Regions from separate parts of the Homo sapiens genome. Here region 2 is linked to region 1. Evidence: promoter capture Hi-C in human tissues and cell types (Jung and others, 2019). All regions are on one chromosome and are shown on one strand. The core of a region is centred on a gene start or on the middle of the fragment in contact, and the rest is flanking DNA. Distances in the headings are between cores, read along the strand shown. Region 1 holds the start of KCNMA1 (potassium calcium-activated channel subfamily M alpha 1). Region 2 overlaps KCNMA1 (potassium calcium-activated channel subfamily M alpha 1).

Region 1 (3,667 bases), core at 1,112-3,611:
CAGAGGCACACAACTATGAGCTATCTTTCCCCTAAAGACAGTCGCTGAATCTCAGTAAACCGGGGAACAAAATTCCCGAGACTGTTGGGGGAGGTGGAGGAGAAGGATGGAGAGAGGGAATGTGGGAATTTGAAGGCTCCAGGAATAAGCTGTTCTCAGCAGGAAGGCTAGTCAGGGATCTGGTGTATAGGGCTTTGCTTAACCTGAGGGCTTCTCTGGAAGGTGGGAGGTTTGCCTCCTTAACAAATAAGAAGAAACCTCTACGGCTGAGAAGGTAATTCCAAAGAAAACTCTCCGACCAGCACCTGCAGGCCTCCGGAGAAGCCAGAGAATGACGAAGAGAATGATGGTTTTCATATTTCTCCCTTTGTTCCAATACACCAGTATTTTCCAAAACACAAATGTGCTGCCACAAAACACAGCTGAGCTCCAGCACCCAACAGGATGTATAATTAATGATCAGGAGAGACAGGCTCCTTCCCCCCTGGTGTTTTCATAGCCAGCCTTCACCCATAGCCCCAGGCTTCCCTACTTCTCTCAGCCGCCAAGGAGGCTGCTACAAGTTGCTGTGCCCTGTAGAAGTTTGAGGGGTCCTCGGTTTAACTTTACTAGAAAAGATGTGAACATGTGGAGGCTGCAATGTGTATCTACCCTGCACTATTCCCCTGGATTTCCCTTCCCTCCAAAACGGTTCGCGCGTGAAGTCCCCTAGGATGGGAATTACTCAGAAAGAAGGCAGCTGGCTCACTCTCTTTTTTCCAGTTCTTTCTTTTTTATTCTGCAGTTTTCTATCAGTGTCGGGTCCCCCACTCCAGCCAGTGGCTGTGGGGAAGGGAAGACATCTCTAGGGACACGACTACAGACCAGGCAGTGAGCCTAGCAACCATACATCGAAGGTGTCGCCAGCCTCAGTGCCGGTGGGCGTCTGCACCAGGAATAGCTAAAGCCGACGACATCTAGCCACCTCGAGCGCCAGGGAAGACGCTCCGCGTAAAACCGCGGCCTCAGGCGGACTCCCGCTCCAGCTCCGCGCTGCTGGTGGCATTTCCGGGGACCCAAAGTGGGTGGCCTGGGGGCAAAGGAACAGAGGCCGAAGAACTTGGGGTATGTTCCACTAGAGCACCTAAGGGACGGAGTGGGAGGTTACATCAGATATGCGACCTCGACACATTCCAAAAGTGGCAGCCCCGTGGGCTACCCCCAATAGTGGGATGGATCTCCCCAACTTCTCTCGCCCCTCGAAGTCCCCCTGTTATCTCGGGCCATGCTCCTCCCCCGGGATTCCCTTGTGCAAAATTATTCTCTCCCTTGCCCAAAGGATTTTTCCCTTCTTTCTGACCCCACGAACTCATCTCCCCAACAGGTTCCTAAAGTATGGGCGGATGTGCTCCCTCTCGCCCACCGCCAGGAGCCGAGCCCCGGCAGGTGAGCGGTGCAAAACACGCACCCAGCTGCCCCCAGCTTCCTCCGTCCCCGCTGAGTTGGCTGTCCCCACCCCGCACCACGGCACCCGAGCCTGTGAGTCCCCGACCCCGGCCCCAGCCGCAGCCGCCAACAACCCTACAATAAACAAGAGGACAGGATTGAGCGTCCGCGTCCCGGAGCGCACTGGCTGGGGGCAACTCCTCACCCCCGGCGCGCCGCCCGCTGCCCCGATCCGAGAGCACCGGGAGAGCCGAGGGAAGGGAAGGCGGCGAGGGGAAGGCAGGCGGGGATGGAGGGAGGCACGGCGCGGCGCGGAGCGAGGAGGTGGGCTGCAGGGGACGCCGAGAAGCGGTGGGGCTGGCGCAGAGGGCGGGCGCCCGGGGCGCGCGTTACCTTCGTCTTGCCCCCGCAGTGGCAGCACACGGTCCACAGGTACTTGAGCGTCCGCCAGAGCAAGATGATGAAGAGGCCCCCGAAGAAAGTCACCATGGAGGAGGCCAGGAAAGCCCACCACATGCGTTGGCCCCGGCTGTCGCACGGCACCTCCATGGTCACCGGGATGATGAGCGCATCCATCTTGGGCTCGTGGACCGAGGACGAGGAGGAAGAGGAGGAGGAAGAAGAAGAAGAGGAAGAGGAGGAGGAGGAGGAGGAGGACGCGTCTAGGCTGAGATGGTTCGCGTGGATATTGCTACTCATTCTAAGACTGCTGCCTCCGCCGCCGCCGCCGCCGCCGCTGCTGCCGCCGCCGCCGCCGCCACCATTTGCCATAGCTAGCAACGGGCAGCCGGCGCAGGGGCTCGGGGGAGCTCCTCCCGCCGCCAGCGCCACCCCAAACACCCATCAACAGCCATATTGCTGCTACTGCTGCCGCCGCCGCCGCCGCCGCGGAGCGCGGGAGGGGGGCGGGGAGGCGCCTGGGCTCGGGGCGCTGTGCGCGACCTGGCGGGGTGCGCCGAGATATATACAGCGAGCCGCCGCCGCCCGCCCGGGGGGGAGGGGGATGGAGTGCGCGGGCAGCTCCCCCTCCCCGGCCCGCGCCCCGCTCGCCCCGGGCTGCGCTGGCCCCGAGCGCCGAGAGCCAGGGGGCGCCGCGGGCCGCCCGCGCCCGGGGTCTGCGCCGCCCCCGGGCCCGCCCCGGCTCCGCGCGCGGTCCCGGGTGTCCTCGGCGCCGCGCCGCCCGCCGTGCGCCACGGGTGTGCGCTGCGCTCGGCCGGTGACCCCCTTCCCCGAGCGCCTCCCGCGCGGCTAACGAGCCGCTCTCCGCTTATTAGGTGGTAACTCGTTAATAATGGATAATCGGCCCCCTCCGCCCGGGCGCCCCTGCGCCAGCCCTCCTCCCCCGGCTGCGCTCGGCTCCGGCTCGCCGCGCCAGTGCGCGCCCGGCCGCGGCAGGTTCACCGCGTCCGGCCGCCGGCCCGTGGCCGCCTGCTAGCCCATGTTCTCGGGACCCCCTAGTCCTGTCGCCACGCCGCTGAGCCCCTCGGCCTCCGCTCGCTCTTCCTCCTTGCCGCCTCCGACTCCTCCTCGTCCCCGTCCTCGCCGCCCAAGCCTCTTCGGCGCGCGCCCCGCGCTCCCCGCAGCCGCCAGCAGCAGCAGCTGCAGCAACTGGAGCGGGCGCGGACTCAGGACGACCCAGGCGGGAGGGGAGGAGGCTCGCCGCGCTGGCTCGCCTGGGCTCCGGGCTGGGCAGGGGTGGGCAGGGCCCCTCGGCAGCGGCCCGGCAAGCGCCCCTGACCCCCAGGGCGCAAGGTAGAGCGCCCCCAGCCCAGGCGCGGGGCCAGGCGCCTCTCTCCAAGGTGCTGCGCCCCCAGCCGAGAGCGGTGGGGTACACTGGGAGGACGGCGGGGCGCCCCGGTCAGGCCGTTTTTTTCCCCAAAGAGCCCCCAGTGGGGAGGGGAGGAGTGGCCAGCTGTCAACTGGATTCCACAGGCTGAGCTCCCCAGGACCCTCGGGCTTCGGGAGTGAGGAGGACCCCACGCCAGGATACACACAGCTACCCACCCCTACTTCGCTCTTCCTGCTACCTATGTGCCCAGGGTCCCGCGTGTGGCTGGAGGGTAGAGTCAGGAAGGCCAGCGGGTGGTCTGTGGCCTCTGACAGCAGCAGGTGGTTTCTCTCCTTTTTCCTTATTAGCAACAGAGGCTGCCCAACAAAGAGTAGGCAGAAATGATCAAGGACGACCTGGCCTGGGGATAGTGCAGGCCCCGATAGACAATAGAGTTCCCTGAAGGGTTGCTTT
Region 2 (3,721 bases), core at 38-2,537, 490 kb before region 1:
CCTGGCTGCTTATATGAAACCTGAATGTCTATGACTGCATGTAAAAAATAAAGATGAGAAGCTGGGCGCGGTGGCTCATGCCTGTAATCCCAGCACTTTGGGAGGCCAAGGCAGGCAGATAGGTTGAGGCCAGGAGTTTGAGACCAGCCTAGTCAACATGGCAAAACTTCGTCTCTTCTAAAAAATACAAAAATTAGCCAGGCGTGGTGGCCTGCACCTGTAGTCCCAGCTACTGGGGAGGCTGAAGCAGGAGAATCACTTGAACCCAGGAGGTGGAGGTTGCAGTGAGCGGAGATGGTGCCACTACACTCCAGCCTGGGTGACAGAGCAAGACTTCATCTCAAAAAAAAAAAAAAAAAAAAAAAAAAAAAGAAAGAAAGAAGGAAAGAAAAAAGATGAGAATTATGCCTCTCAGGGGCTGTGACAATAAATTGATCTACGTGTGTTTTAAAATGCCTTTCACACAGAATATGCTACATAATCACTCATTCCTGGTCTCCTCCAGAAGTCCCTGCACTTGGCCTCTCTCTCTCGGGTGTAATGGATTGGTCCCCATTGAAATACATTTCCTTTTCAGAGTCATTTATCCCTCAGTTAGAAAGAAGTATTGACCATGGGGAAGGGGGACTGTGAAGCCACCTGGGCATGGCAGAGGGGGCCAGGCACAGAGGAGGGAGCACAAAAGAACGAACAATGAAGCACATAGAGAAATAAAACCTAACTCGACTTGCAAGCCAGTGATGGCCCTATTTTTAGCTGACAAGTGAGTAATCTGATGTGTGTGACTTGAAACAGGGAACATAAACATCAAGGCTGAATCTATAACCAGCCACATATAACTTGTACTATAACTTATTCCCAGAATTCTAGACTGTTTGAATTAAGTGTCTGCAGGTCTCTTCTTCACGCACTTACTCTTATTAAGTTTGGGAACTAGAAGCCTGTGTCATTTGCACAGGTCTCAAGTTACAAGGGAAAAAGATGCTTTGCTTGGTCTCTGGTTTGACTATTCCAAAGAATCTTTCCTAATCTCCAATTCGTCTTTGTCTCCCACCCCACCAGCCTCCCTCCCTCCTTCCCTTCCCCCTGAAAGCTAACCATCAGAGGGGTGGAATAGCCTCTAATTCAGCCCATTCTTCCCTCATCCCTTTCCCTTTCATCATCAGCTAGCAGTGAAAGTCACCATCCTCTTGGACCTCCCATTTCTGAGGCATTGTCTGTCCCAGAACCCCATGCAGGACATTGGAGACAAGTGAATCTAACCTCGTCCAATCTCCCTCTTCTTCCCGTAGATAAAAACCTGAACTCAAAGAAGAGAACTGGAATAATCCTCCCTTATCCCACTTCCCATGGTGAGCCCCAGCTGGGACGCTGACACATGGCCCCAACTTTTCCTCCTGCCTGATGTCTGGACCCACAGGGGACAGATGGTGGTCCCTGGTCACTGAAGTACCCACAGGTTTGATTATTGAGACTTTTATCTCTGTTGACTACAGGGAGGACCTGAATCAGTTTACATGGTTAAAATAAAAGCGCCATATACAAGGATAAAGCAGGACAGGGCCCCCACCATCTAAAAGTAGAAGGGATGGGGATTGCCAGGCAGCACCTGCCACCACCAAGAAAAGACTGAGAAAGGGACACTTCAGGCACAACATGTAAGGAGGTGCTCCTTTTGGGACTGACCCTGCCTTTGCATAGCCCTGGGAATGAGCCACCCTCATGTTTGCACCCAGGCCTCTCTCTTGCCTCATCCTGCACCTGCCATGAGTTTACTACTGAGCTCACTTCTGAAATTGGCTCTGCATTGCCTGTCACCTATGGCAAGAGAGAAACAACTAGGTTATGACTATTGTGAACTGAGAAAACCTATAAAGCCAATTCAGAGATCAAATCTATCCTAAAATTAAATTCAAGCAGAATTTTTGTGCCAGCGGCTTTGAATAAAGACTGAAGAACACGGTGAGTTATATCTTCAATTACAGTTTACAAAGAACAGAGGTACTCCTTCCAAAAGGGGACTCTTGATTTAGCTCTCTGTAAGGACAGAAAGCATAACACTGAATCTTGGGTCAGCAAAAACATTTTCACAAGGGCCTCAGGTATCATGAGATTTAGCTCTGTTTAATTCTGATGCTCAACATTAATTTAAGGAAAATGAAGTACTTGTTTTGGGGGGGATTAATTTGCTACCAGGCACACCTCAGCTGTGTTTTATTCTGAAGCTCTAAATTAGCACCAGGATCAACCTGGATAATCTAAATCAGGGGTTGCCAATTTTTTTCTGTAAAGGGCCAGATCATAAATATTTTGGGCTTTGTAAGCTGCACAATCTCTATTGCAAGTGCTCAATGCGGCCATTGGAGTGAGAAAACTAGCCACAGATGATACAAAAATGAATGAGCTTGGCCTCGTTCCAGTAAAACTTTCCTTACAAAAATAGGTGATGGACCAGATGTAGCCTGTAGGCCATAGTTGGTCAACCTCTGATGTAGCTGACATCTTGAAATGAGGAAGGAATGTTTAATTTGAGAACAGGTACTTCTACATTTCACAAGGTAGAAATCTGTAAATAACAACATTTGGAAGTTCCTTCTGTTTCCTGCAACACTCACTTTAGAACCTAATATCATGCTATTTTTATTGCTCTGGCTTAATTCAGTTATATAGAAATCATTTCTATTCAAATAGACGATGAAATCCTTGAGGTCAAGGTCTCTGTCCAACTTCTTTGGGTATAATCCATCGTGCCTAGCACAGCTGGGAACTTTGCACTTGCTTAAAGTGTTTTCTTCCCTTTCTGAAGGACAGTGATTCACATCTCTGCTTTTGACATGCAAGGACTTGACGATCTATTTAACCTAAGGGGAGAAGAGTCTCTTTCAAAGAATGGATTGTCATCCCCTTCTCCCTGCCCCTGCCATGTACATTATGCTTCTAATCAGTCTGGAATAAAGCGATGTCATGGGCATAAACTAATTTCTTCCAATCCAAAACAAGTTAGCAAGTCTCATTTTGTAATTCTAAAGTCTTCAGCTCATGTATTTATTTCAACATTTTTTTCCTATAAATAAATGGCTGTGTGACTTGTCTCCTTCTTTGTGTTCATATCCCAATGTCCAGTGTAGAGTGGCCTTCACTAAATATGTGTAGAAGGAATGAGGAAATGAATGCAAGATGGGCTTAGCTCATAAACCCTTTGTTTTGTTAGAGACTTTTGCCAACTCTTTTAGGCAGTTACAATATTTTGATGGGCAAGACCTGTGCTGTTGGGCTGCCTGGTCAAACCCATGCATAGTGAAATAATCCGTCTCCAATCTCAGCCTGCATCCTAACCCCAATTTGTCCCTGAGTGCAAGGTCACTGATCTGAATTTGAATGGCAGGCTTTGTTGACCTAACAACTCTGTTAGGCTCACCCATTTCTGCATACTACTGGTGAGTGACAGAGGATGGACACTGAAATCTCCATCTTTTCATAGAACCCATGCAAGAGGCACAAAACCATCTGCTTAGTGGTCATGTGGCAGCAGACAGTATCTCAGAAGTCCTCGCAGCATATGACTTCACTGATGAAGATGGATCACACTTGAGCAGGGATTCTTGATCTCTGCAAAACAGCTCATACACAACAGGAACAATCTCACAGATAAGAAAAACTCCAGAAGTTGGTCTCGGGCTATGAAAATTTCTGCCACAATATGATTTATATGAAAATAAAT

The links. Contacts are between HindIII fragments. The study calls those that stand out against the background at their distance.
Region 2: a contact is called between a fragment that was not itself captured here and the fragment with the promoter of KCNMA1 in region 1, in 2 of the 25 tissues and cell types used here (aorta and dorsolateral prefrontal cortex).

Annotation. Positions count from the first base shown.
Region 1 is chr10:77,635,447-77,639,113 of GRCh38, forward strand. It overlaps KCNMA1 (potassium calcium-activated channel subfamily M alpha 1), which reads right to left and starts at 2,362. Exons shown (of 28, transcript NM_001161352.2): 1 at 1,819-2,362. The coding sequence starts at 2,196. The HindIII fragment of the contact is 5,846 bases long and covers 1-3,667 here.
Region 2 is chr10:77,146,360-77,150,080 of GRCh38, forward strand. The region is part of intron 5 of KCNMA1 (potassium calcium-activated channel subfamily M alpha 1); the gene reads right to left. It overlaps KCNMA1-AS2 (KCNMA1 antisense RNA 2), which reads left to right. Exons shown (of 3, transcript NR_120654.1): 2 at 1,293-1,459; 3 at 3,482-3,721. Among named protein-coding and RNA genes, the nearest start is that of KCNMA1-AS2, 7.4 kb to the left of the region's middle. The HindIII fragment of the contact is 9,011 bases long and covers 1-3,721 here.